Regions from separate parts of the Homo sapiens genome. Here all the other regions are linked to region 1. The links are contacts of gene promoters, found by promoter capture Hi-C in blood cells and fetal thymus (Javierre and others, 2016). All regions are on one chromosome and are shown on one strand. The core of a region is centred on a gene start or on the middle of the fragment in contact, and the rest is flanking DNA. Distances in the headings are between cores, read along the strand shown.

What was found. Contacts are between HindIII fragments. The CHiCAGO score rates a contact against its expected background, and 5 or more counts as called.
Region 2: a contact is called between a fragment that was not itself captured here and the fragment with the promoter of HOXD12 in region 1, in 1 of 17 cell types (M2 macrophages). The highest score is 5.1, in M2 macrophages.
Region 3: a contact is called between a fragment that was not itself captured here and the fragment with the promoter of HOXD12 in region 1, in 2 of 17 cell types (M0 macrophages and monocytes). The highest score is 6.9, in M0 macrophages.
Region 4: a fragment that was not itself captured here is called in contact with the fragment with the promoter of HOXD12 in region 1 in 1 of 17 cell types (endothelial precursors); the score reaches 5.2 in endothelial precursors.
Region 5: a fragment that was not itself captured here is called in contact with the fragment with the promoter of HOXD12 in region 1 in 4 of 17 cell types (monocytes, M2 macrophages, megakaryocytes and 1 more); the score reaches 7.3 in monocytes.
Region 6: a fragment that was not itself captured here is called in contact with the fragment with the promoter of HOXD12 in region 1 in 1 of 17 cell types (M1 macrophages); the score reaches 5.1 in M1 macrophages.
Region 7: a contact is called between a fragment that was not itself captured here and the fragment with the promoter of HOXD12 in region 1, in 2 of 17 cell types (fetal thymus and total B cells). The highest score is 9.3, in fetal thymus.

What each region holds. Positions count from the first base shown.
Region 1 is chr2:176,098,362-176,101,120 of GRCh38, forward strand. HOXD12 (homeobox D12) reads left to right here and starts at 1,434. Exons shown (of 2, transcript NM_021193.4): 1 at 1,434-2,014; 2 at 2,161-2,759. The coding sequence starts at 1,441. The coding sequence ends at 2,399. RefSeq lists an enhancer at 1,289-2,021. The HindIII fragment of the contact is 6,365 bases long and covers 1-2,759 here.
Region 2 is chr2:175,286,869-175,289,627 of GRCh38, forward strand. No RefSeq gene overlaps it. Among named protein-coding and RNA genes, the nearest start is that of ATP5MC3, 110 kb to the left of the region's middle. The HindIII fragment of the contact is 5,516 bases long and covers 1-2,759 here.
Region 3 is chr2:175,346,151-175,348,909 of GRCh38, forward strand. No RefSeq gene overlaps it. Among named protein-coding and RNA genes, the nearest start is that of ATP5MC3, 170 kb to the left of the region's middle. The HindIII fragment of the contact is 3,400 bases long and covers 1-2,759 here.
Region 4 is chr2:176,820,061-176,822,819 of GRCh38, forward strand. No RefSeq gene overlaps it. Among named protein-coding and RNA genes, the nearest start is that of LINC01117, 180 kb to the left of the region's middle. The HindIII fragment of the contact is 981 bases long and covers 848-1,828 here.
Region 5 is chr2:175,379,771-175,382,529 of GRCh38, forward strand. No RefSeq gene overlaps it. Among named protein-coding and RNA genes, the nearest start is that of ATP5MC3, 200 kb to the left of the region's middle. The HindIII fragment of the contact is 5,863 bases long and covers 1-2,759 here.
Region 6 is chr2:175,433,527-175,436,285 of GRCh38, forward strand. No RefSeq gene overlaps it. Among named protein-coding and RNA genes, the nearest start is that of ATP5MC3, 250 kb to the left of the region's middle. The HindIII fragment of the contact is 1,413 bases long and covers 622-2,034 here.
Region 7 is chr2:176,629,154-176,631,912 of GRCh38, forward strand. LINC01116 (long intergenic non-protein coding RNA 1116) reads right to left here. Exons shown (of 5, transcript NR_188023.1): 3 at 1,159-1,279. Among named protein-coding and RNA genes, the nearest start is that of LINC01116, 7.1 kb to the right of the region's middle. The HindIII fragment of the contact is 1,510 bases long and covers 640-2,149 here.

The DNA of each region.
Region 1 (2,759 bases), core at 184-2,683:
TGGCAGAGCCAGAGGAGCCCCAGACATCCCCACCCCCCCGTCCTCACTCCCTCTCTCCCCCCCACCAGAGCAGGAGGAAGAGGCCGATTGCGTTCCCCAGAGCCACCCAATTGGTCGCCATAACTCACACAATAAAGTGGCAGCGCGGCGGTCAGTCTTGCCCTCCGGCGGCGCCTGTGTGGTCTCAGTGCAGGAGCCCGCGATCTAACCAATTCCAGCTTGGCTCGGAGACCGAGGGTCCTGCTGCAGGCTGAGACTGGCGCCGGTCACCGGGTCTCCCAGGGTCTTGGGATCAGAGGCAGGAGGGGAGGACCCCTAGTCCTCTGGCCGGACTAGGCAAGAGGGCCAGCGACGGGGTCTGAGCACACCGCTCCCGGCTAAGAACTGCTGCCTTTCCCACTTCCCTGTTTGTCAGACCCGTGAACTCCCTATCCCCGGCACCCCTGGGGGCGCTGAGGCAAGGAACTCTGCTAGCCAGCTGCCTCCGAACGCCCGCTGTTCCCCGGCCAGGTGGTTCTGGCTCTTCTGCCTTTCCACACCCAGTCGGGGGAGTTCGTCCTGCTTTGCCCTCCACTTGGTGGATGGGGACACCTCGGAGTTCTGGTTTGCAGTGTGTAGTCCTGGAGAGGACTCCTGAAGATAAAAGGAATGTAGCCTTTGGCCACGATTGGTGGATCGAGCTGATGGGTTCCCTGGCGGACATTCTCCATGGACCTGTATGGCAATTTCCCTATGATCAGAGTTCTTAGCCATGGGGACACAAACCAGAAATAGTGTGGCCTCCTTCCTGGATCCCAAAATTGGGTAGTTTGTGATGCCCTTTTTGTGTCTGCGGCCTGGGACTGAGGGCTCAAGTAGCGAATGGGTCTTTGCTGCCAGATCCTCAGGCAGAGGTCTCTGGAGAAACCCTCTCTGTGGGAGTGATTGGGGTAAAAGTGACATTGCTCAGGCCAAGGGACAGAGCTCCTGGTGCCGCCGGACCGCGCCCTCTCCGGATAAGTCGAGAGGCGCCGGTTAATGGAAAATGCCTCCGCTGCAACTTAAAGCCGGTAGAAGCAAGCCGGGCCCAGAAAGCCTGCGGAAAACGAATCGCAAAGCCAATCACGACCAAGAAGAGTCCCAGGGGACACTTGGGCAGAGTCACCCTCTTGCCCGATGTCCCCAGCTGCTGAAGCCGGGCCTGGAAACCCGCAGACAGTTAGTCTTCGCTCAACCTGATTTGGCTCTGCTGGCAGCCTCGTCCTTCGCCATCGAACATTGCGGGTGTTATCATAATACTCTGAAGGGGGGGAAAACGGGTCGGGGGGATGTAGGCGGTGCTGAAATGACCGGCTTTGAAGAACCTGCAGGCAAAGTTTCGTCCAATCGTCTGAGCCTGTCCTCTTATTCCCGGTTGTAACTAAATACTGTTGCGAGCGCAGCCGAAGCCCTTTGTTGGAGATGTGTGAGCGCAGTCTCTACAGAGCGGGCTATGTGGGCTCGCTTCTGAATCTGCAGTCGCCAGACTCTTTCTACTTCTCCAACCTGAGGCCGAATGGCGGCCAGTTGGCCGCGCTTCCCCCTATCTCCTACCCGCGCGGCGCGCTGCCCTGGGCCGCCACGCCCGCCTCCTGCGCCCCCGCGCAGCCTGCGGGCGCCACTGCCTTCGGCGGCTTCTCGCAGCCCTACCTGGCTGGCTCCGGGCCTCTCGGCCTGCAGCCCCCAACAGCCAAAGACGGACCCGAAGAGCAGGCTAAGTTCTATGCGCCCGAAGCGGCCGCTGGGCCAGAGGAGCGCGGTCGTACCCGGCCGTCCTTCGCCCCCGAGTCTAGCCTGGCTCCTGCAGTGGCTGCTCTCAAAGCGGCCAAGTATGACTACGCTGGTGTGGGTCGTGCCACGCCGGGCTCCACGACCCTGCTCCAGGGGGCTCCCTGCGCCCCTGGCTTCAAGGACGACACCAAGGGCCCGCTCAACTTGAACATGACAGTGCAGGCGGCGGGCGTTGCCTCTTGCCTGCGACCTTCACTGCCCGACGGTAAACGGTGCCCATGCTCCCCGGGCCGGTTTGGGCCGGGATGGGAGGTGGGGTTCAAGGGAGAGTGTAAGGGGAGGTGAACCGCCTGGGGGCGGGCAATAGACAGAGTACGGGCTGGGTTGACGTGGGTTGGGGCTGTGTTGCAGGCCTGCCGTGGGGGGCGGCCCCGGGGAGGGCCCGCAAGAAGCGGAAACCCTACACGAAGCAGCAGATTGCGGAGTTGGAGAACGAATTCCTCGTCAACGAATTCATCAACAGGCAGAAACGCAAGGAATTGTCCAATAGGCTGAACCTCAGCGACCAGCAAGTCAAAATCTGGTTCCAGAACAGGCGTATGAAGAAGAAGCGCGTGGTGCTTCGGGAGCAGGCGCTGGCGCTCTACTAGCCGCGCGCGTGGCCAGGGCCGGGTTGGATCTGCCCTTTTGGACAGAGGCCTTGTTTGGGGAGGGGGATCTGGGGCTAAGGCTAAGGCTTTTCCTTCGGTTCCTTCTCTGCTGGCCCCAGAAGCCACCAAGAGATTTACAGACCAGGCCAGTTGGGCCTCCTTGCTTTCCTCAGTCCCTGAGAAGCCCGTGAGAAACGTGCGGAAGTACCAGTGCAACTCTGGCTGGCCTTAAGGCTTCCACGTTGGGGGACTGAGGCCAACTCTCCTTGCTCCTGGCTGGGGCATTTGCACCCACCGCTCATTCTTGCTCCCCGGTACCTGGATTTTTCTGTTTCCACCCAATTCGTTCTCCCTTTCCCC
Region 2 (2,759 bases), core at 194-2,693, 810 kb before region 1:
TCAGATGTCCTTGAGAACATCCAGAATTACTGACTGGCAGCATCGGGATGTTCCAAGCCTGTTCTGATTTTTCCCTGCCTCAAAACATGGAACCATCTATCCTCCAAGTAGTTCTGATTCTTTCTAATAAAGAACAGTATCGGAGACTAAAGTCTGAGTACTCTGGGATGCTCCAAGTCTGTTCTGATTTTTCCCTGCCTCAAAACTTGAGAGTTGAGCAAAGATGCTGCGGCTTCTCTCGGGACATCTTTAGTGGTAGAGCTGGAAAAATGTTTCTTTTTAAAGGAATTCTAACTTATTTCTAAACTTTGTTTTAATATAAATAATTTCATTTTCTCTATCACATTCTTACTTTACATGTTAACTTTTCAACTAAACTGTAATTCTGTCTTTTAAAAAAAAATTCTTACAGTCTCAATACTCCAATACTCATCATTTTGTAATCACTTTATTGATACGAAGGAGGATATTCTAAAACTTTTTATTTATTTATTTATTTTTTGTGATGGAGTCTCACTCTGTCACCAGGCTGGAGTGCAGTGGCACGATCTCAGCTCACTGCAATCTCTGCCTCCTGGGTTCAAGCAATTCTCCTGCCTCAGCCTCCCGAGTAGCTGGGATTACAGGCATGCACCACCACACCCAGCTAATTTTTATATTTTTAATAGAGATGGGGTATTACCATGTTGGCCAGGACGGTGTTGATTTCCTGACCTCGTGTTCTGCCCGCCTCTGCCTCCCAAAGTGCTGGGATTACAGGCGTGAGTCACCATGCCTGGCCTAAAACGTAAGAGGGAATAATACAGTAACATGTAAATATGTAATAAATATATAATGTATACTAAATGTAGAAATATGTAGTAAGTATTTCATGTTAAAACTATTTATTTGTGGACTTAAGCAGAAAACAGCCAGATAATGGAGAGTTCTAATGAACTTCCTTGATCCTTAAATAAAGATTTCTTATTGCTACAGACACAAATAACGAGGAATTTTCATTGTAAGTTCATTTTATTTTTGTTGGCTGCTGATGGACAGACTGAAGGTCTACTTCTCATCTTTTCAGTCCTCTTTTGGCATTAATGAGGCTCCACAAATAGAAGAATTTCAAATGGCCATAGCCACGGTCAGCCTTTGGCAAGGTTTAGATGGAATTAAGTCTCAATGAATACTGCCTAACAGTGGCAGAGCCTACTTATTTCTATGCTTCTATAATGTTTTTTAGCTTGTACATTTCTCCTGCCATTACCTTACTTCGACGTTTGTTACCTCTACCTCAATTTTTGCAATCGTTTTCCTGTTCAGATGTGCCAGTTTTCTTTTTGACTATGACTAGTTAAAATTTATCCATCTGTTTAAGGGTTTTATAAAATTGCAATGATTATATTCATTTCCAGGATTTCTGAATCTTCTTTTAAATATCCCTGCACTTGATTCAGAGCTGCCTGCTTTATTTTATAACCTACTGTTGTTTTAAAAGAAAATATATCTGAGGATCTCACAAATGTTCTTTTAAAATTACTCTATTGTTTCAATTTCCAAAATAAAAGTAAATTCTTCTGTCCCTTGAGTTTGTTGACTGTCTTTCATTGGGTGAATTTTTCTTTATGTGCTTTGTAACTCTCATTTGCAAACTCATTTTAAGTGGAAATTTGATTTTGTTTGTATTTGTTCTCTTCCTGAGCTCAGCCTTTCTTTTAGTGATTTTGTAGCTGTCTCCTGCAGACTCCAGCCCATAACCAGGTCTTAAGTTATGTGAGCAACTTAGAGCTGTTACCCTGGGGGGATGTTGCTCATTCATCCCAGAACCTCAACTTCTGTTCCTGGGATGGGCAACCCCATCCAATCTCTGATTCCCTTCCCCTTGTGGGAAATGTTCAGTCTTCCTTCCCCCTCATGAATTTAATTCCCCTTCTATTCTCATTGTCAAGATATTTGTCTTGATTTTGAGTATAACTCTGCCTTTTAAAAATTTTCTCTTCTTATTTTTATCTCTTTCTTTCTTGTTTCGAGGTCATAGTGATAGTGGTGGTGAGGTAGAGCCGAGGGGTGTTTGGTGTGAGCTACTCCACTCTCTTGACCAGAAATCCCTACACTTAAATTCATAATTGGTATTCCTACCTCTAGTTCTTCTCCATTTTCATTTATACATTATGCTACTGTAAGATTCAAATTCTTAAGGCATCAGTTTTGATCTCTACATTACACCTCTTAAAAACCTTAAATGTTTCCCCACTGGCTATCAAGAAAAATGCTCTAGTGTATTGTAATTATGTATAACATTGACTGTTGGTTTAAGATTACAGAATTATTTCTAAACTTCATAATTTTTAAAATTATAATAACTAACAGACCTATTTTTTTTTTCAATTTAAGACCACGAACTTCACCCAAAATAGTTGTTACTAAATATCAAAGAAAGACAAAAGTTTTCTTTTTATTTTTCACTGGTATAATTTACAATGAGCTCTGATTATTTTTTCTACCTTAATTTATTAGAACTATACAGAAATATAATTATTATCTACCCACTGCTAATTTGGCATTTCTTTTGATTTATTTTCTAGTGTTTATAATGGATAATAGTGATTGATTTATACTTTCTTGGCCACATATAGAGGTAAGACTTAGGGACATAGTGTATGTTATGGATCAAATTAAAGTTACTGGTTTAAATGAGATTAGACTCCTGAATTTGACATCACTTATATGTTGCTCCATCTCAGACTTATGCACTTTGTGGTAATCAGGAAAAACAT
Region 3 (2,759 bases), core at 120-2,619, 750 kb before region 1:
AGACCCCATTTCAATATAATTCAATATTTCTTGATTTTATTGCTCAAATTGTTCCTGCCTTGGCTCTTTCAGTTAGCTACTCTATTTTTTTTTTTTTACATATCTCTATATTTTTTAAAGCACTTCCTTACTTTCTGATGTTACAAGATGTTCCAGGCTCATATTGTATATTTCCTGTGCAGTGCTAGAAACAGCCATTTTTCCAAGGAGAGCTGGTTCCTTTTATCGTAGAATAGTATTAGAAACGAAGATCTGGGTGGTATATGTGCTTGGTATAATTCACTTTTGATCACATAGGTCTGGTGTTTTGGTAAATTATGACAATACATTTGCATTGCAGCTTTGGCCACAATCCAGAATTCTGATTCCATAGGTCTGGGGTTCAAGCCTCAGGTGATGCTGATGCTGCTGGTCCATGAACCACGTTTGGAAAATCATTGTACTATGGGTTAAATTGGCTTTTGAGTTCAATTCTGGGATCCAAAGCATTCCAAGTTTAAAGCTACTGATATGCACAATGTGTCTTTTCAAATTTATCTGCTAAGAGATGTTAGGTGCTGTAACTGGGTTTACTTATGCTGGGTCATTTATGATAGGGAAGTATGCAGCTAGTGTCAGATATGGCCCAAATCACTGAAGACAAGTCACATTAGAGTTCCCAAACTCATTACTTATAAATCAGGAGTCCAAACTCTGGTTTAGCTTTTCAACTAATAAACTGGATAGTCTGATGGACTTCTCCAGTGGAGAAGTAAAAATGGAAGAAGAGATACTATTTACATGTTTATGTAGTAGAAGGGGAGTATTTTTTTCTCCTTAAGTTCAGGTATTGGGTTGCTATCAAAGAAAAAAAGTACTGATTTTTTTCCATATTAGGTTGCTCTTTAGTAAGTCTAACCTTACCCTAGGTGCCTGGAAAGAAATTTGGTAAAAGGAAGATGATTGAATATTTTCATTTTTTATTTTTTAAAATATGTATATATTTTGGTATTTAAATTGTTTTTATTATTTATAAAAGTGGCCACTTTTACATATCTATTGTCTTAGTCAATTTTCTGCCTCTGTAACAGAATACCACAGACTAAGTTATTTATAAAGAAAAGAAGTTTACTTGGTTCATGGTTCTGGAGGCTGGAAAGTCCAATAGCATGGCTCCAGCATCTGGTGACAGTCATCCCACAGCAGAAGGGTAGAGGTAGAAGTGAGCAGGAGAGGCCGAGAGAGGAAATCAGGCCAAATTTACTTTTATAACAAACCCATTCTCCTGATAATCAACCCAAACCCAAGATAATGAAATTAATTCATTCATGAAGACAGAGCCCTCATGACCCTAATCACCTCTTGTAGGGCCTCTCAACATTGTTATAATGGCAATTAAATTTCAACATGAGTTTTGGCAGGAACATTCAAACCATAACATCTGCTATAGTTGTAGATTCATAATGATTTTAAAGGAACCCTAATAAAATTACCAGGAACCTTGAAGCATTCTAAAGGGGAAAATCTAGGAACGGAGGTGGTAATAAAATTAACATTTACTGATACCTGTCATTATTTATTGTAGGCTAAATTTTTATAACAGATATACCCCCAAATACAATGGCTTTAACAAAAAAAAAGTCTTTTTCTTACACAACAGTGTAGAGTGGGTATTACAGGATGATGGGGTGGCTTGAGACAGGGGAGGGCAGCTGGCTCTGCTCCATGCAGTTATTAAGGGACCCAGGCTGCCGTGTGTAGCATGTGGCTTCAAAATCTATATGATATTGTTCCAGCCCATGGACCAATTGCTATGGCAAGGGAATAAAATAGTAAGTGATGCAGCCTAAACTATATTACTACTTGGGGGTGGGAGAGGCTTCTATAGGGGTGCTGGGTAGATATGAATAATCATTTCTACAGGATCCTTACTCCTACCAAAACTTCCCTTCACAAAAAGTTTGTAAAATTAGACATTTGTGCCTTCATGTAAATTAACACATGGAAATAGTCTTCTGGGACTTTAAAATTTTAAATCTTATCTCTGCTTATGGGGCAAAGGGCTTTATTCATGAGAAGGAAGTCCAAGGACTAGACCCAGCAGATAGGGGTTTGTTCTTTATGTTGAATTGGACCGAGGACAGCTGCTGGGAGCTCGAGGAAGGCAACATAGTATCAACAGGGCATTGCAGGCAGATAGATGGACCTGGTTTAGAATTCTGTGATCTTGGGCAATGCGCTAAAATTTTCTGGGCTTCAGTTTTCTTATGTATAAAATGGTAAGAATATAAAATTCCTTAGGAAGTTTAATGAGGAGTGGGATAATATATATATGGTGTAATGAATGTAGATTTTTTTTCCTGAAATCACATGTCAGAAGTGCCACCATTCTTTTTACATATAAGGATACCTCTGAAGAACAAAAATATATATTAATGCATCTCTCCTGAAAGTTCCAAAATAGATCTACAATCTAGGATTTGAACAATTTATAACAATACTTTAAATGGTGCTCACCCTGATAGAGGTAATCTTTCCAATGTTCTCATAGGATATGTATAATTTGGGTAATTTAGTGAATTAAATTTTTTCTTTTCTTTTTTTTACCATATCCTTTTTTGTCTGCATTTTTCCCCCTTAGCTAATGAAAGATCAAATTAATTAAATCTTTTGATGTGTCAGGACAGCTCTTAGAGTAAGTGTTAAGGTAAGGACACCGAACTTTTCCACATGGTTGTAGCTTTATAACCTGAACACAGATTTAATGCCATGTCTTTTAG
Region 4 (2,759 bases), core at 88-2,587, 720 kb after region 1:
TCAGTGACAATGTCTCAGCCTCATTTTCTTTGTCCTGTAGTTTCTCTGTCCTTGAGGAACTTGCGTGCATCCACGTGGCCTGGGAACAACACGCACACAACGCAGCACTATGTGTAGCTTGAACAAGTGCTCCCTAACTTTGTTAGTTCCCACACACTTTGCTAAAATGCATGTATGATTGCTACTGAACTGTCTGGGTCCTCAGACCTTATCGGGACCCTGGAACACGAGTCCTGATCAGGAGCACCTTTCATGGTCATCAGGAGCAGAATAGGAACAGGGAACAGTTTAGCTTCTAAGACTGAATTTGTCCTGCTCACAAGAATCACCAGAGCTTGTCCTCACAAATACATATGTGTGTCTAAGTAGAAATTTTTCATTAACACCAAATAAACCCCCAAACCTTCCCTTATGTAAAGGAAATAAGACTGGCTGCTAGACAGACTTCTTGATCCACAGAGGCTGTGATCTCATTTCTGTGTAGCCTTAACAGGGGACAGTAATGTATGATTGAGACACTGCTATATTTAGGAATGACAAGATGAACATTATTAATAGCTTAATTGACATTAAGGCAATTACCCCTACCCTTATTACAGTTTGTAGAATTACACAGAAAATATTGGCTGGGGCCTTTTTTTCCCTAGAGCTACCCAAGGATACAGCATTTTATTTCATGCCAGATCCCAGCTTTGACATTAGATACTTAGCCATAGAATGATTCCAGTAAATCATTATAAATGCATTATAATAAAGATGTTATGAGCTATCAGATATTAACCCCCAACCCCTAAAGAGAGATAAATAGTCCAGTTGCATGATTCCCACTTTTGTTTCATAAGAAATAAGCTTTTGCAAAGAGCAACTGACTAATGAATTATAAAATGGTGTGTTGAGCTCAGATAATTAAACAATGCATTTTAGTGTCTAGTGCAGGATGAACACTAAATCATACACAAATAAAAAAGGTAAAAATCTGAGCCCCATGCCTAACTCCTATTTTTGAATAACATTAATGTTGGTCTACAGTCCAAAAATGCTTCAACTATTTTCTTATCTGATTAGAGAGGCATATCAAGTATAAGATCAAGGCACAGTAGGCAAACTAAACCAACAGTCAGAACAAAAACTGTGAAGGTGCTAATTTCAGATAAGCCCACAAGGTTATTTTAATGGAGATTTTACATGGAGATTGCTTTTTCCCCCAAAGTGTTAATGGGACAAAAGTCTAGAAGGACCTGGAAGTTTTCAGGTTTCCTTATACTTTATATTTTCTCTGAACTCATAATAAAGCATATTAGTGGGAATGGGATCTATGCTATTGGTGGTGGTCTTAGCCTTATAGTGTTGGAAAGATGAATACACATCCTAAAATCTTCTCTAGGTTGTGGAGGTGCAGGGATGAGGAGGGGTTGGTTTGGGTTTCAACCATTATCCTCCCCAGGTGGTGGTATCCTGCCCAGCAGGGCTTCATCTAGTGGTCAACCATGGAACACCATGACATTTTCACCAGTGGCCCTCAGACAGGGCTGGTTTGCCATTGGCTGCCATTTCCTGGCATGTCGTAGATTTGCTGCGTGATTTGAAGCTGTGCTTCAGCACATCCTGAATGTGTTTTTTAGTCTTTCAGTATCTCAAAGACATGGTGTCCGCCTCAAGGTAGTCTCCTATTTCTTCGTCAAATAGCACATCATTAAGGACTGTGTGGCCAAAATTACAGATGGTCTTGGACTCTGTATGGGCAATGACCACCTGTGCTGGTAATCGAGGCTTCCCTGGAACACCTGGGAACATACCACACAGCCAGTCCTCTCCTGTGCTCCAGTCAAGCTTAACCTCACAGCCCGATACTCCCTCCACTTCCCTAGCTCCATGTGTTAGCCACTGCAGGTTAATTGATCTAAGGCTTATTTTCTTCAAATATAAAATGAAGATAATAATGCCTACCCAGAGGGTCATGTGAACATTAAATGAGATCAATTATGTAAAGATCTATCTATGCAGTGCCTTTCACAGAGTATGCCCACAAATAAATGTTACCTGTTTCATTTTAGTTATCTATGTTTAGCTATCTTTGTGTTTTTTCTATCCTGCTTCTTCTCGCTCCACTATACTCTTACATCCTAATTCTCTCTCTCTCTCATACACACATACTTTGCTGTGTCTAGCACAGTGCTTTGCTTGTGGCTCACACTCTACATGCTTGTTACCCTGAACTATTAACAAAAGCAGCTGCTAGTAACAGTTAATGTTTTCTGACCACCTACATGAGCCAGGCACTATGCTAAGTATCATCACTTCCTTTAATTCTCACAAGCTTATGAGACAAATACTATTTTAATTCTCATCTATCGGAAATTAAAGATTAAAGATGTTCTATAACTTGCCCAAGGTCACACAAGCTCTTAAGTGGATAGTCAAGATCCAAACTCAGAACCGGCCTGGATTTGAAATCTCAGTTCTTAACTATCACTGTGTCAGACTGATTTTGTTAGCTTTTTCCTCCTTTAGACTGGGCCCTATCAAGGGATCAGAGATAAGCATGTACCCACTCTCAGATGAGTGATCCCACGACCTCAAGTTTTGAAGTTCCAGGAAGTCCAGAAGTGTATGCTAACTCTAGTTTATAGCTGTTCAAAAGTCACTTGTCTAAAAACTTCAGGGACATTATGTAAAACCATCCAAAAAACATTATTGCACACCCCATAAAGTTAATTTCACTTTGCAAGAATGTGTTTGAGGGAGGTGATGCACTTGGC
Region 5 (2,759 bases), core at 77-2,576, 720 kb before region 1:
TATAAAAATATCCTTCCAACTTTTTTCTATGCAAATTCATATATATACTTAAAAATTGGAGCGTATTATGCAAAATGTTTTTGACATACTTTTTTCGCTTATATATAAACAACTTTCTATCTCAGTAAGTCATTTTCTTCAATATTATTTATTCAGCTATAACTTTTTTGCTAGACTTTTTGCAATATTATTTTTAATAACATTTCTGATTATAAAAATCATAGATATTCATTGTAGAAAATATGAAAAATACAAAGAGAAACTTCTAAATGACTCATAATCCTGCTACTCAAAGAAAACCGAGATCAATATTTTGGTGTGTTTCCATTCTTGTGTGCCCATTCTTGTCCATTTATGGTATATAGACCATAATTCCAATTTTGTAAAACTGTCAAACACTAGCATATACAGTTTTGTCTTTTTTTAACTTGACGTTTTTCATAAGCATTTCTTCATGCTTTAAATGTTCTTTTAAAACTTTAATTTTAATGTTTGTACAGTTTCCATCAAATGGATTGACCATAAGCCACTTAACCAGGCCTATATTGTTGGACATTGCCGATATTTCTAGTTTATTACTATTGTAAATAACACTGTAATAAACAGTCATATTGAAATTTTGGTAAGCCTTGGTGATTATGTCCTTATGATAGACATTGGGTCAAAGGGCAAGAACCTTTTTGAGGCTCTTAATACATATTACCAAGTTGTTTTCCAGAAAGAATATGGCAGTATTTTATACTTACACATAACTGATATGGGGATATATAAAATACATCAAAAGTTTTATTTTCATATAATTTAAATGGGCATATTAATTCATGGAATGAATCTGTCCTTAAATTTGATAGAATAATCTGTGGTTATGATTTAATTTGCTTTGAAATCCACAGATAAAAGTAATTCTTAGAAAGATAAATAATAATTGATATATTAGTCATCTAACTTAAAAGTGTCCTTTTAGGGAACACTGGAAACTAAAAGAAAAAAAAGTGAATGTCTTTTTTGTGGTTAAAAAAGACCCTGGAAATACTATAAATTTACATGTAAATTATTAAGACTGCCTCAAAAAATAGAGAAAAAATATACTTGGAAGAGGAAAAGATTCAATGCTTTTCAAATAATACAGACCATAATTGGAGCTTATTTATAAAACATTTTCATTATTAAAACCAAAACATATGGTTGTTTTTCATGAGAGTTGGCAAGTGTTTTTATTGCTTTATAAAAAATTATTGAATTATGCCCTATAAATCTAATCGGCATATAGATTTTTAATGGTATATATTCTCTTTCATTAACTTAGAGCTGTTTTCCATAAATACTGAATAGTGGTTAAAGCTCAAAATGAGGGGATATAAGGTTAGAGCTAGATGTTTAAAACTTAGACAAATCCAATTTTGAAACATAATTTTAGAACATGTTCTAGGTCCTTAGGATTTGCAGGGCAGGCTTACTAAGGTAATCTCTAAAGGAATGCTTTATCCTAACTTCTACTTTGGGGTATAAATACTACCCATAGAAAAACAAAGACGGGGTTATTAAGTAGTTTTTAACTTCAGAAACCAATAAAAGTCAGAACTCTCTGCCCACAAGAATGAGTTTGTTTACTGTGTGCATACTTTTTAACACCCAGTAGCTATGAAATTTCAGATAATTTTTGTCAGTCTCCATCCATGAAGGCAGAGTTGCATGGAGATAAAGACCAAAACTGTCACAATTGCTCTTTAGAATGTGAAAACAAACCAAAGTAAAATGTATTTTGTTGAAGTTTGGAAGTCAGTTCAGTCCATTAAAATAGCTTTTGTTTGTTTATGCCACTTCCTGCCTTTCATGAATGGGTTCTGAGTACCTCCAGAGACAGCTGTCCATCAGATTTCTTTGGGAGATGACTGAGGAGGGAGTACTTACATGCTAGGAAGACGGACAATGAATAGGGAGACAGGAAGTATGATTGCTCTTCTTGGAGCTCCTTATCCCAGCTGCCATGCCCTAGAAGATCAGTGGGTGCCATGAATATTCCAGGGGTAAAATAGGGATACTGTAATTTATTGAATTTAAATCATGATGACTTTTATTGTTGGAATGGGGTAATGGGAAGAAATAGTTTTATGCAGACCCATAGATAGATCCTTAATTGTTGGATCCAAACCCAAAATACATTGAACAATAGTATAGTATGGGAATAAACTCATATTTCTCTGTGTGTGTATTTTAACAACAAACTATATTTTTGTTTCCTTAGAAATTGAAGATGAACTTATAAATAAATACATACTTATTGATGATGATGTGTCCAGCTATGTTCAAGTGAGAAAAAGAAGTATGAGCCATGGTTTCCTGCATATAAGGAATCTTTTGTTTTTGAGATAGAGTTTCACTCTTGTTGCCCAGGCTGGAGTGCAATGGCGAGATCTCGGCTCACCACAACCTCCGCCTTCCAGGTTCAAGCGATTGTCCTGCCTCAGCCTCCTGAGTAGCTGGGATTACAGACGTGTACCACCATGCCTGGCTAATTTTATGTTTTTAGTAGAGACGAGGTTTCTCCATGTTGGTCAGGCTGGTCTCGAACTCCTGACCTCAGGTGATCTGCCCATCTTGGCCTCCCAAAGTGCTGGGATTAGAGGTGTGAGCCACCGCGCCTGGCCGGAATCTTAATCTACCTGGGAACATTACAACATGGGGAAAAATGAGACCAAAAGATGATAGCCTTGTTTTGAAACTGACATTGCCATAGGAATTAACTCAGCTAATGATGT
Region 6 (2,759 bases), core at 78-2,577, 660 kb before region 1:
AGCCAGGATGGTCTCGATCTCCTGACCTCATGATCCACCCGCCTCGGCCTCCCAAAGTGCTGGGATTACAGGCGTGAGCCACCGCGCCGGGCCGAAACATAAATCTTTAGTTCCGTGTTTATCCTAGCTGCATAGCAATGATCCGTCCTTTATATCCATACCATTAAAGTTGTTAAACGAAGACAAAATTTCCTAATTGCATTTCATCTACAGTAATAATAATTTTTATTTGGAGGAGATGGACATTGCCCTTAAAGTATTTTTAAAACTACATATTGGAGTAGTTACATAAAATACTAGTTTGTCAAGCTCAGTAAGGAAGTAAATTACCCTTATTCCTCCTCTACATGTTTAAAGGAGTCTAGGGAATGAAGGAGTTCAAAGCCACATCCCGCCAGGCATCTTTCTACAGAAATGCCATTTGTCCTAAGACAAAGTATGACAAAAGCTGATAGAATGGCTAATTCTGGGTATAATGTAAAGTTTGTCTTAAAGTTATTTCTCAAAACGTAATAATGATGTCAGACCCCTGAAATGTCCGCCACCAGACTACATGAATAGGATTTAGATAAGAGATGAAAGGAGGGCCTGGAAATAAAGCAGGTGGTGAAATCTTGAAAAAGCTTACATTTATCGTAAGCAGAACATCTATAGCAATAATCTTATAAGTGGGTTTTAAAAATCAATTAAATAGGCATATTACAAATATGTCATGTAGTCATATAATTGTTTATATTTCTGATTCACCTTACAAATGTGAAGCATAACTTAAAGAAATAATCTTTAAAAATGCCTTCAGTCATTATAGTAATTACCCTGAAAGATTAGAAACTTCAAAATGAAACAAGAAAAAAGTAAGGAACACAGACTGATTTATTGTTATAAAGTAAGCATATTGTCCTATGAATAAAATTATGAAAATACTTATAATGGTCTGCTTAAAACTAATTGTTTTGGATGTGATAGGCACACGTTTTATTCACTAACTCTAACTGTGACAATGACAGATCAAAATTCTATAAAGAAAGCAAAAATATCACAAAAGAAAGAAAATAAGAAAAATGGCAGCCATGTATGCTGACTTAACAATGCCATTCAAGGTTGGGCGTGGTGGCTCATGCTTGTAATCCTAGCATTTTGGGAAGCTGAGGAAGGAAGATTGCTTGAAGCTAGGAGTTCGAGACCAGCTTGAGCAACATAGCAAGAACCTGTTTCTACAAAACAAACAAAAACCATTATCATTCAAGATCTGAAAGTGTTTTCTGGGTACGATTATTGTTAGTTACATTTAAAATAAATACCTATGGCAGAGAAATATCTAGGAGCTGCAAACACAGATACTCACACAGGCCAGGCAGGAAATAATGGGGCTGGAGAGATTTGTCAAACTAGAGTGTGTCCGCACTAAACAGAGCAGCTTCTACCAATTGTTGCCATGTGGAAATGAGATCTGAGTTTTGCCAGATCTCTTGTTTTTTCAGGAAAACCTGAAAATCTAAATGTTTAGAGATTATGAGTCCCTGTGAGGGCCTCACAAGACCCTTACCTGTGTGGGTTTACTGAGCATAGGTAAGACAGCTGGGTTGAGGGGGTTGGGATGGTTGTCATGCACCCTGATCTAATGCATTCTGGTTATTGAATAAACAGTAAGAACCATAAATTAGAAAATGCTGTTTGACATTGAGCAATACATGGTTGATTACAACATTGCACTTACGTGTATATAGCTTAGTTCAGTTAATAGTGCACTTTCTTATGTCTCATATCATCTAATTCATGTCATTAGAAAATGAAGACCTTTCCACACAGCCCATTTAAGGGTTTCTCCCTCTCATGCTGGTCTCTGCCTAGCCTTCCTTTCCTCCTCTTCTTCACTTGGAGGACTCAGCTTATCTTTCAGGGCTCAGAGAAGACTCCCACCATCCCTGTAACTGGGCTGGGACCTTGTGCCATCCTCCCTGGATCTTCCCTTTGCAGCATTGTGAAAATTGTGAATATGTAATTCTTATTCTCTGTCTTGCCGGCTAGACTCCAAGCTTCATGAGGGCAGAGAACTACATTTGTACTCTCAGTACCTACTTCAGTCTGATACACATTTTTAAAATAAATGTTTGCAGAAACAGAAACATTTGAATGAATCACATAGAAACGTGTGGGTGTGTGTATACACTATATATATGTAATATATACATGTTCAGAGTCTTATTTTGAATAATAAGACTAATCTCTGAACATTACATATATATGTATAATATAATTAGAGTCTAAATGAGCTACTTCCTTTATTCACTGCCAAGTAGACTTGTTACTTATTTCTGAGAGCTCTTTTGAATTTCCTCTGCTAAACTGGAGACACCTCAAGTTTTAATTTTTGGGGGGTTTCTAATTGTCTTTTTCTGATATATGGAAATAATGGAGGTCTCCTCAAAATGCCCTCTTAAGACAAATGCTGTGCTTCTTCCAGACAATAGAAGAAATGTGGAGATTGTAAAGATGGCCACAAAGTATCTACCTTTCTTTATCCATGCCCTTGGTTGGTTCCCTTGCACACGGCTTGGCTTTGTGACTTGTTTGGGCCAATTTACACTAACAAATATGATGCAAGCAGAGGTTTATGTATTAGGACATGTTTTATCTTGCTGCTTTTGGAAACCCTGTGATCACCATCATATAAATAAGCCTGGGCTAGCCTGCTGTGGACATGCGGCTCAGTCATCTTCATTACTGCAGGCAACAGCCAGCACCTTCAGACAAACATG
Region 7 (2,759 bases), core at 145-2,644, 530 kb after region 1:
TTAGTTGAGTGACCCCATGCCAAAAAAATCAGAAGACCCTCTATGACAGTTGAGCATTTGTGAAGAACAAAGGCAGAATATCCAAAACGTAAGGACAAATCTTAAATATAGTAAAAAATTAGGCAACTGCCACATGAAAACACCTAGTAGAATCTGAAAAACAAACTTCAGTGAAATTTGGCCAACTGTGTAAATGACCACAGACCTCAGTATGGTCAGTATTGATATCCAAAATAATGGAGTAAAATATATAAAAACAGCTCTATTTCTGGAGTAAGATGTCAGAGCATTCCCTCCCTCCCTTCCTCCCTCCCTCCCTCCCTTCCTCCCTTCCTCCTTTCCTCCCTTCCTTCCTTTCCTCCTCCTCCCTGTCTCCCTCCCTACCTGGTGTTGAAAATATTATCAATAGACCTATTAACAATTACTGCATTCACGTATTCTTCCAGTGTCTTTTTATTGGCTGTCAAGGACCATTAAATGGATCAACATAAAACAGTGTGCTACCTCTTGACTCCAGTTTCAAAATCTCAGTATATTTCAGTAAACTATCTCTTTAGTGAGAGTGATGATGTTTGACCATAAGGCCTTGTTGAGAGTGACAACAATGAATGGGTTACACATTGCTGATCTAGATCAAGAAGCTTGTCAGATGTTACAGTATGCTCACACATTAAAGTTACACTATGCGGCAATTACCCTAAGTTTATTTTGTGTCAGTTACAGCATGATGGGGATGCCAATCACAGAGCTCTCCTTGCAGGTAGGTTAGCATTTCTATTCTAGGTCCCCATATTCAAAAGCGTTCATAACTTGGTCATAAAAACTAATCATGGAATGAATCTTGGCATATAAAAGTCATTTCTCAGAAGATTAAAAAAATACAAATTAGAAAAAAGCCCCAAGTGCTTTGCCATTCTGATGTTACCCACAGGCCCCAAAATGAATTAGCAAGTCAGCAAGTCCTTTTCACTTATTTTTTTCTTTCTCCAAGAAAACTGTGTACTTCAGGGCCTTTGGGTCAGTTTTTAAGCTGACTTGTCTGGAAAAGGTTATCACTTGGAGGGAAAGAAGTTCTTTTCCAGCCTGGACAATATAGTTGAGACTCGGTCTCTATAAAAAATTTAAAAAGACAAATCAGCCAGGCATGGTGGCTCACACCTGCAGTTCCAGCTACTCGGAAGGCTGAGGTGGGAGGATGACTTGAGCTCAGGAGTTCAAGGCTGCAGTGAGCCATGATGGTGCCACCACACTCCAGCCTGGGTGATGGCAGAGTGAGACCCTGTTTTAAAAGGAAAAAAAAAGAATTAGAATTAAGTTCTTTTGTGCTACACAAAGATATTTTCCTTCAGGTGGTGATGGGAGGAGGGAAGGTTGGCTAACACTGAAGTTTCAAGTTTGAGTTCAGGGCTGTATTTCTGAATATAAACAAGATGCTATTGAAACTGTTCATTTAGATGCTCTCTCTCTTTTCTTTAAATAATCTCTAAAATTTTATATAATGAGAAACTGAGAACAAAGATTCAATCTTGTTTTTCCCTTGCAACTGCAGTAGCAGATATTTACTGATGGCAAACTGTTCCAGATATTTTGTGAACGTTATGCCATTTAATACTAATTTTAATATTGCAAAAAGGCACCACTTACTGCCTTTGTTTTATAAATGAGGAAACTTAGGCTCAGACCAGTTAAGAAACCTGCCAGGGGACATACACTGAAGCTGAAACCCGGGAAACCCAGGCCCATAATAAGTTAAATGTGTGTGTTCTATTAGTCATATATGCTTTTTAGCATGACACACAAAGGTAGGTCATGCTAAAAAGTGCCAATACCTATGTGGAAGAAAATACTCACAGTTAAACATATGCTCTAAAGGTCTTAATGTTAACATACAGGTGTCTGAATGGCAACTGCTAGGGCTTTGTGGGGCTGGGCCTAAGTAAATGCTGATACAGGCAGCCCCTTCACTTAGCCCATCCATTTTTGCCCACATTGTCTTTGGCAATTTCTGTAGTCATCTCCAATTCATTTAAAAAGTTTACTACAAGAGTTAATTGATCTTGATTGCTGGTGGGTAGCATTAACTCAAATACAGAAATGCTCTTGCTCTCCAAGATGACTCCTATTTTAGGGCCTGGCCACCGCTAGGCTAAGCTTGGTGGGTTACCCTCAAATGACCACCCACATTCATGTAAGGTGAACTTGTCCTCAAACAGCTGCTGGCTATTAAAGTTAAATTTTGATCAGATCTTCCAACATTTAGTAGTACAATTCCAACTCACTAGGTTTTCCAGGTTTTTCAAAAATCACCTTTCGTTCTCATGGTGAATAATTTTAATTGGAGAAAGAAAAAAAAATCTCAAATGCACAAAATCTTTTACCATGTTTCATCTTTTTAATAATGTATTTATTTTTATTCTAAGTCCAACAGGCAAAGACCAAGTCAATTTCAGTATTTGGCACAAAGCCTGCTGCAATATTGATGATATAATATCAATCATGATTATAAGTTACTCTGTTATTATGTGAATATTATTTTATAAGCTTTAATAAGATGCTTGAGCATTTAAGATGAATGGTTTAAAGTCTAAATTCATATTCATGCCAAATATGTAGGACATATTTTTCATAATTGTTCTTGTCCCTTGGGTCAGTAATATACTTTATAATCATCATAAAATTTCATTCTTAATTCATTTTAATTTATCAGAAGGAAAATATGGATGGTTATTGCCCAATTAAAATACTCCTGATGCTTTTAA